Regions from separate parts of the Homo sapiens genome. Here all the other regions are linked to region 2. Evidence: promoter capture Hi-C in 16 types of primary human blood cells and fetal thymus (Javierre and others, 2016). All regions are on one chromosome and are shown on one strand. The core of a region is centred on a gene start or on the middle of the fragment in contact, and the rest is flanking DNA. Distances in the headings are between cores, read along the strand shown.

What was found. The method cuts DNA at HindIII sites, captures the fragments that hold promoters and counts their contacts. A CHiCAGO score of 5 or more calls a contact.
Region 1: a fragment that was not itself captured here is called in contact with the fragment with the promoter of GNAT2 in region 2 in 1 of 17 cell types (megakaryocytes); the score reaches 5.4 in megakaryocytes.
Region 3: a fragment that was not itself captured here is called in contact with the fragment with the promoter of GNAT2 in region 2 in 5 of 17 cell types (megakaryocytes, M0 macrophages, M2 macrophages and 2 more); the score reaches 9.4 in megakaryocytes.

The regions. Positions count from the first base shown.
Region 1 is chr1:109,786,539-109,789,466 of GRCh38, reverse strand. No RefSeq gene overlaps it. Among named protein-coding and RNA genes, the nearest start is that of EPS8L3, 24 kb to the right of the region's middle. RefSeq lists enhancers at 853-1,736, 1,737-2,620. The HindIII fragment of the contact is 4,535 bases long and covers 1-2,928 here.
Region 2 is chr1:109,618,316-109,621,015 of GRCh38, reverse strand. GNAT2 (G protein subunit alpha transducin 2) reads left to right here and starts at 1,400. Exons shown (of 9, transcript NM_001377295.2): 1 at 1,400-1,533. AMPD2 (adenosine monophosphate deaminase 2) reads right to left here and starts at 1,179. Exons shown (of 19, transcript NM_001368809.2): 1 at 738-1,179; 2 at 1-102. RefSeq lists enhancers at 1-422, 382-431, 953-1,481, 1,452-1,501, 1,482-2,012 and a silencer at 1,072-1,261. The HindIII fragment of the contact is 17,616 bases long and covers 1-2,700 here.
Region 3 is chr1:109,767,430-109,770,129 of GRCh38, reverse strand. All of the region lies in intron 1 of LOC124904258 (a long non-coding RNA gene), which reads right to left. Among named protein-coding and RNA genes, the nearest start is that of EPS8L3, 4.9 kb to the right of the region's middle. RefSeq lists an enhancer at 1-551. The HindIII fragment of the contact is 5,200 bases long and covers 1-2,700 here.

The DNA of each region.
Region 1 (2,928 bases), core at 97-2,596, 170 kb before region 2:
CTCTGAGGGGGTGGGATCAGGCAGAGATGCTGGGATGGGCAGAGAAGAGGAAGTAGACCAGGGAAACGGCCAGGGGTGAGGCAGATAGGTCTGCAGATGGGCTGGGAGCAGCCTTGTAGGAGCAGAGGAAAGAGAGTACTGTTCTAGGGTGGCCTGAGAGTAAGGGGTAGTGAGGGAAGTGGCCACTAGGGTTGCTGCAGGACACCAGAGGCATCTCTGGGAAACCTGTGGAGCCTGCTGAATGCCTCCAGGTGCATGGTGGGGGCCGGGGAGCAGAGGCCTCATGGACGTAGCAGCCCCAAAAGGGCAGGTGCATGGGGGGTGGTTCCCAGGGGTGTTCAAAGGCAAAAATTAAAATGGTAACTCCCTCTGCGAAGAGACCCCTGGGCATGGTCCAAACTGATTCAACAGCAAGCATACTGCCCTTGACAATGTCCAGAGCCCAGGCCACCACCTAGAGGCCGCACCAGCACTCTCTGGGCCCATGTTGCTGCCCTATGCCAAGACGCAGGTCCCTGGAGGCACGAGCAGCCTGGAGCTGACCTGGGCTTCCTCAGGTGCAACAGGCACATGGAGTGTCTGAGAGGCACAGGAGCAACAGCCAGTGCCCCCTGCAGAGGACCACTGGGGTCACAGACTTCAGACCTGATGACCTGGGCTCAGATCCCAGCTCTGCACCTACCAGCCGTGTGACAAGGTGTCCTCTCTGAGCCTCAGTCACACACTGCCTTAACGGTTGGGCCTCATGGAGCTGTTTGTGAAGGTTAAATGGGAAGACATAAAGCACTTAGCCCAGAGCCAAGGACATGCTGAATAGGATAATGGTGGCCTCCTTTGGCGCTGTGCTGGTGCAGGTGTGCCGAGGAACTGGGCAGGGGTGACAGATACCTCTTCTAACCTAGTTCCTTTCCAAGAACCTAATTGGTGTCTCTCCCTCCCCCAGGCAATTGGAAGGAGGAGGCTGGGCCCCAGCCCCAGAATACGGGAGGTTTCTCACCGTGGTAGGGAAATTGCTGGGTTGGGGGTGTGGGCAACCACAGTGATCGTCTCTCTGCAGGACGGATGCGGCTTTGCTGACAGAGAGTCTGCGGCCTGGACATGCCAGCGGTGCAGGTCTGAGGTCAGCACTGGGGAGCCGGGCTGGGCCCCACCAGGGCGAGACATCTGCTTTCAATCAGCTGCCCTTCTGCCCGAGAAGGGGGTGAGGGCTGAGACCTCCCCCAAGCCCAACTTCTCATCACACAGAATGGACACTGAGGGCAAAGGAGGCAGGAGAAGCTCTAGAGACCCAGGTCAAAGAGATAGAGGTTTATTTTTGTTAAGCCACTTAAACTAAATCCTTCAATAGCTCTCTTTTGCAAGGCCATGCCCAGTCCGGCCAGTCAGCCCCCAGCCTCCCCCCGCGCCGCCCCAGCTCATGCTGCCTTGTCGCAAGCCTCTGGCTTGTCCGCCACTCGAGGGCTTTGCACTCACGCCCTGGGGGCCCCTGCCCTGCCCTGTGCAGGCTGACTTGTCATCCTTCAGCTGAAATCCCACTTACTCAGGAAAGGCTGTGGACGCATTTCTCCAACCCTGTTGACAATCTTGTTGAACACAGTTTGCTTTGTACCTATGTGTTCATCTGCATGGCTACTGAATGTCTGCCCCCCACCCCACTCTAGACTGTAAGCCCCATGCGGGCAGGAGCTAAGGCTGTCTTCCTCAGGACAATATCCCTAAAATTCAGAGCAGGGCCTGCCACAGAGTATGCGCTCAATAAATACTTGCCGAATGAATGAATGACTCATGCCTCTAAATATTTATAGCAGTTTCCTTCTGTAATCTTCAATGGTTTGAGTTCCACCAGATCCCTGCAGGATAATCAGTGCTTACGCCCATTTGACAGGCCCAGGTGAGTTAATGACCCTGGCTCCCAATCCATCCTGACTCACAGTATCAGGCTACCTTTGTCTAGGAGGAGGAGGAGGGACAAACTGGGAGAAGAGAGGCACGTGCCACAGAACCGGAGACCAGAGAGAGGGCTGGGTGAGAGACCAGCAAAGGGTGGGGGCACTGCCGGGGAGCCACATGCCAGCAGCCAGGCCCATCACACCCCATGTCAGCCTGTGTGGAATCACTCCCCATCCTGGAGAAAGTCCAGGAAGATGCCCACTGGGGATGTGCCCCAGCGACCACCCCCTATCCCTGCCAGTTCTCACATCCTTCTCCTGAAATGGCCATGCACTAAGCGGGCTTGCAGTCAACCACCCCAGGGTCAAACCAACGTGCTGCCTCTGACAGCTAAGCAATCTCAGACAGTTTAGTCAACTTTCTGAGCTTCAGTCTCCTCAAATGTGAAATAGTACCATAATAGAGCTGGCCTTAATGAGCAGTGGTGAAGCACCCATGAGCCCATGAAAGTTAAGCACACAGCAGGAAGAACTGGGTCTCTATGTTTCCACGGCCGCCATTGGCTCATGGGGACCATCCGTTGGGTATTGAGTGGTCTTGCTCTTGGCGGTAGACAGGGCTTATTCCCCTCCACCTGGGAGTGTCTTGAGGACAAGGACCTTTGTATCCCCCAGGGCTCCCAGGCCAGCCCAGACCCAGGTTGGGCTCTCAGCTAGATGCACGAACACATGAGTGTTTGTTTGGATCCAGAGTAAAAGCTCTGTGAATTTCCTGCTGATGTCAAGAGCAGGAGAGCTGGGGGGAGGAGATCTCTTCTGCCACACCCAGGCACTGAAGGATGGGTGTGCAGAGGGCAGAGCTGGGAGGAGCAATAAACGCCAGAGAAGAAGAGGACAGAGCATGACTGGAGCGGGCGCAAAACCCAGAAAAAAGGCTGTGTTGGAGTTCAGGAGGCCCTGCAGAGAGCAGATTTGGCCTGGGACCAAGAAGTGTAGCCTCAGAGCCTGGGAAGAAAGGACAGGAGGCCTGGGAAGGCAT
Region 2 (2,700 bases), core at 151-2,650:
ATGTTGTCTAGGCAACCTCGGGGAGTGGGGCCTCCATCTCTGCCCCTTATCCCTCCCCTGCCTCCTCAGTCCCAGGAGTGACGTGACTGATGGTGGCTGGGCCTGGCGGGGGGCGGGGAGGGGGTGGGTAGAAAAGAAGATGGGGAAGGGCCAGCCCCCAGCTCTCCACTAACCCACCAAGAGCCCTCACCCCATCATGCCAGGGCTCCCGGGCAAAGAAGCCAAAGTCCAGGCTAGCTGGTCCTTCCAGCTAGCCTGGAAGAAAAAAGAATAACAAACAGGAATTCAGCAGCGAGCGAGTCCAAGCTCAAACACAGTCCTCCCGGGGCAGGGCAGGCATACTCCGTGAAAACCCAGCACCCACTTTCCTTCCACATCTGACCCTCAGCTCCCGGGGTAGCCCAGCTCTGGGAGGAGGGGGAAGAACCGAGAATCCCAGCCCAGGAGGGAGGGGCCTGTCCCGGGAAAATTCCACCGTCGCCAAATAGCTACCTCCCAGGAAGGCAGGAAGGCCAGGAGACCCCCTTGTCTGGGGGTCTGGGACAGAGACCCTAGCCTCTTTGGATTTTTCCTCTGTCTCTGCACACTCTGGCTCTGCTCCCCAGGCCCTCCTGGGAGGAGCTGACCGCCTTCCCTAGGTCCTGCTGCTGTGCTGTGACTCCCACCCTCTTGTCACTCTGGCCACAGCACTTCTCTGTCCCAGAGACCCTCCCTCCAACACACGTACACACACTCACCTGAGGCCATGATGCCCGAGTTCCGAGGGGAGGCTGCCCACGAGAAGTCTGTACAGCAGAAAGCCCGGGTCCTGAGGGACGGCAGGGGGATCGGGCCACAGACCCCAGCCAAGTCACTCCAAGGGCCCCTGCCCTGGCACTGAGATGGGGAAAGTAAGGCAGTCTTTCAAAATTGCCAGCTGGCCGGAGGTGGACTCCCGCAGACCTCGGCAGCCGGACTGGCCTCAAGGCGACCCCGGTGTCGCGACCACCCAACCCTGCAATCGAGAGGCTGGTAGGCCACGTGCTCCCAAGGGAGCGGGACCCGAAACTCGTCCAGATTTCTCTCAACACTCCCTGGGCATTCAGGGTCGGACTCCCGCGGCCGGACTGTGGGGGAGTCACGCAACAGGTGAGACCCCACCAAAATCTCGCCGGCTCCGCGCCAGGCTCTGCGGCCCTTGGCCCCGCCCCCGCCTGGCCCCGCCTCCGCCTGCCGACCCCGCCTCGCCATTTTTTTCTCTTCCTGGGCGCCACGTGGGCAGCCACCACACCGCGGTAGGGCTGGCCTGAGCCGACCCTGGGTCTTGGGCCAGTTCCGTGCGTCAGCTTCCTCATCAGTAAGATGGGGTAATGACAGTACCTCACTCAAAGGGGTTACTGTGAAGATTAAACGTAAAGTCCCTTTACACAGTGCCTGGCACGAAGTGAGGGCCCAGTGAAAGGTAGCTGTTATCATTGTCCCAGGATTCATTTTAAGCAGAAGTCCTGCCCCTGCAATCTCACTTGGTCGTCTGTTTTCTTCCGGCCGGCGTAGGTAGGAGGCTGTGCCCTGCAATTCTGGCTCCCCTTCCCACATTTCTGTATTTGGTGGTTAAGAGCTTTAACTCTAGCCAGAATGTCTGGGTTCAAATCCAGATTTCACCTACTTCCTGACTGATACTGGGCAAGTTACCTAACTTCTCTGTGCTTCTATTTCGTCTGTAAAATGAGTGTAAGAGTACCTGCTTTATATGGTGGTTAAGATAAATGAGTTAATATAAGTTAACTGCTTAGAACTGTGCCTGGCCTGTAGTTAGTACTCAGTATTCATGTATTACCATTGCTTTAGCCTTGGCCTTGGTTCTCTATTGACACTCACAGGTTGATTCACTTGCAGCCGTTCTGGGGTCTATCCAACAAGCATCCCCACTGCCAAGGGGTAGATAATCCGACCTAAAGGGAACTTGTGGAGGGAAGTCCCTAAGACTTCACTGAATATAATTAAATGCATTAGCAGGAATTAATCTCTTCCCTATTTTCCCTCTTGTGGGAGGCCTTTGCCCCCCACACCCAGTTGTTCTAATGCTGTTTGTCTGGCTCCTCCCAGTTCTTACCACTCCCACAGCAGAGATCCTTCCCAAACTCTGCCTCCCTCTTCTCTCCCCACGCTGGATTCTGGACCCTGAACCCTTTTCTCCACCTGCATCTGGTGCCACTTCCATTGATCCCTGGCTACTGTTCCCTGAACAAACTTAAAAAAAACTTGGCCTCTTCACCTCACACAGAATCCATAAAACTAAAAAGAGAACAGAGATAACCAGGTTTACCTAATCAAAATAGCAAAGACTAAAAAACAAAAAACCAAAAAATAAACGCTAATGCAGGTTGGCAAGGGTATAGTTAGTGAGATGGGAGACACACACACACGTACATGTGCACAAACACATTACTGGTGGCCTTGAACACTGATATAATCTTTCTGAAAGCCATCTGGTAATATAGAATCAAAATTTTCAAAAAGGTTCTTATTATTTGACCCAGTAATCAACTTTCTGGAAGTTGTTTTTCTAAAAAGAGCTGCCAGAAAAATATGTATGCAAAAAGTTGTTCAGCACCACAATGTGTATTGCATAGAAAAGTTAGATACTTTAAAGGTCGAACAATAGGGGAATGTTTATGTAATATTCATACCATGAAATACAGCCATTAAAAATTGTTCTTG
Region 3 (2,700 bases), core at 99-2,598, 150 kb before region 2:
CCACCTTCTCCCCTGCCCTCCCACAGAAACCGCCCTCCTGCCATGCGCCCAGGATCTCTGTTGTCTCATCTGTCTCTGCAGTAGTGTGTTCCCACTAGCCATTATGCCAAGTCTTCCACCCTGAACACATCTGAACAAGTTTCTGGTATGTCATCCCTGGCCCACCATCCCATCCCCAGCAAAGCCTCCCATGCCCACTGTCTACACTCGGCGACTCACTCACAGCCCACCTCCTCACCCTCACACTCTTCAGCCGTCCCCAGCTGGCTCCAGCCCCCACTGCAAACCCACAGATGGTAGCCTTTCCTCCACCTCCCAGCAGCACCTGGCCCAGGTGTCCACCCCTCCTTCCTGAAACACTCTCTTCCCAGCTCTCCTTGCTGCTCACTGGCAGCCCCTTAGTCTCCCCTCATCCTTCCCAATCTCTTAATGTTGGAGCGCCTGGGTTGAGTCGTGAGCCCCCTTCTCTTTATCTATACACTTTCCCGCATGTGGTCTCGTGAGTCTTAGGTCTCTGAATGTTATTCGTGTATTTACAGCTGCCAAGTATCTACTGTCTTCTACACTGCAAACGTTCCCCGCATCATTGAATCATCTTTCTCCACATGCTTCTGAATGCCTGCATGTGGTCATCCTGCTCTGCTGAGCTTCTGACTCACACCTGCCCCTGCCTTCCTGCTACTTCCACCCAGAGGCCCAAAACACCTCTCAAACTGAGGCCATCCAGAATGGAACAGTAACTCTTCATATCCCCCTGCCTCCCAATCCCTCTTCTCTTCGGTTTCCCCATCTCACCAGATGTCACCATAACCCTCCCAGTTGTCCAAGCCAAAAACCTGAGTCCTAATAGGTCCTTTTTCCCCTCTCAACCCCCATTCTAATCCATAGCATGTCCCATCCGTTCCACCTGCAGCCTAAGTCTCCATCCTCACTGCCCTGCCATGTCCAGGCCTCACCACCCTCTCTGCAGCAGCTGCTTGTGGTCTCCCTGAGTCCGCCCCCACTCCCCCCACAGCCCATTCTCCCCACCCCAGCCAGAGTTGTGACTAGAACATAAATCCAATCATGCCACTCCTCCATTTAAAACCCCTCCGTGTCTTCCAACTGCCCTTGGAATAAAAACCAGGCTCCTGGCCATGGTCTACGGAGCCCTGTGTGCTCTGGCCCCTGTCCACCCCATTTCGGTCACCTCTCCGCCAGCTCGTTCCTTCTCAGCTGCAAGCCCTTCACATTGCTGGCCCCCTCTCCCAGGCTCCTTCCCATCCCTGGCTTAGCTTGAAGCTCCCCTCCTCAGAGAAGCCTTCTCCGACGTCGTGCTTCCAAACACCCTCCCACCCCCATGCCATCATCCACTTCACTCTATTTCTCTCTTGTCACTTGTCAGGACCTTGATTATCTTCAGATACATTTGTTTCTTCTACCTTGGCAGGTTAGTTGCGAGGGAGGGACATCATCTCTCTTGTTTATGTCTCCACCTGGCTCGTAGAAGCCACTTACCCCTGTGCCAGGGCTGGGGAAAGCAGGGGCAGGGATGGGAGCTGTCTCTGTGATTCCCCAGCAGCCCCAGGGCCAGGTGTCAGCCCCTGGACAGGACCACCATGACTCAGGGAATGCAAGGGCTGGCCCTTAAAGGACACACAGGAGTTCAGCCAAGGGGTGAAGTGGGCAGGGAATTGCAGGCAGAGGGATTGCAGTCCTACTGGATGAAGCGGCCTGGGAAGAAGAGTTGTCAATCAGCCCCTGATTGACATTGAGGCTGCCTCATCCATGCAGTCCACCAGCAAGAGGTGCTGGCTGGACCCTGCTCTGGGGTCTGGTTCTAAAGGTGAGGCGGCACCCATTCACCTCTGAATGCCAGGGCCCTGCCCTACCCCCTGCATGGTCATCCATGAACACAGAGCTCTTTTCCTCAGAGCCCTCCAGAGTTTCCCAGCTCTGACCAGGGCCTGCTCTGGAGCTTCCAAGGAACCCACCCTGCTTCTTGGCCCAGGCCAGGGTGGTGGGAGGGGCTCCTTGGCCCCTTAGCCTAAAGCCTGTGCACCTGGGTCTCTTTATATGCTGAGAACCAGCAAGCGGCAGCGTCTTCCACAAGACAGAAGACCCAGTAGCCTTCTTGTTGCATCTCCATGCAAAACCATTCAATGGCTCTACTCACCACCAGGTGATGACGGCACACATATGCTGTCATCTGCCACCACCTCCCCGCCACATACACATACACATGCACACACACGCGTGCACACACACAGTTCACGCCATACCCATCTTCTCCCCAGGCCGCTTCATCCAGTAGGACTGCAATCCCTCTGCCTGCAATTCCCTGCCCACTTCACCTCTTGGCTGAACTCCTGTGTGTCATTGAAGGGCCAGCCCTTGCATTTCCTCATCTGAGAAGTCCTCCCTGACACCCCCAAGCCGAGTAAGGTTCTTTATGCCTGCATACTACAGTGCTTTTGTTTACAAGCCCTTCTCTCCTCTAGACAGTGGCAGAAAACAATCTGGGTCCTCAGGGACCTGAAGGGGGCCTGCCCCTCCACACCTGTGGGTATTTCTCGTCAGGTAGGACGAGAGACTGAGAAAAGAAGACACAGAGACAAAGTATAGAGAAAGAACAGTGGGCCCAGGGGACCAGCACACTCAGTATGCGAAGACCTGCACCGGTGCTGGTCTCTGAGTTTCCTCAGTATGTATTGATTACTA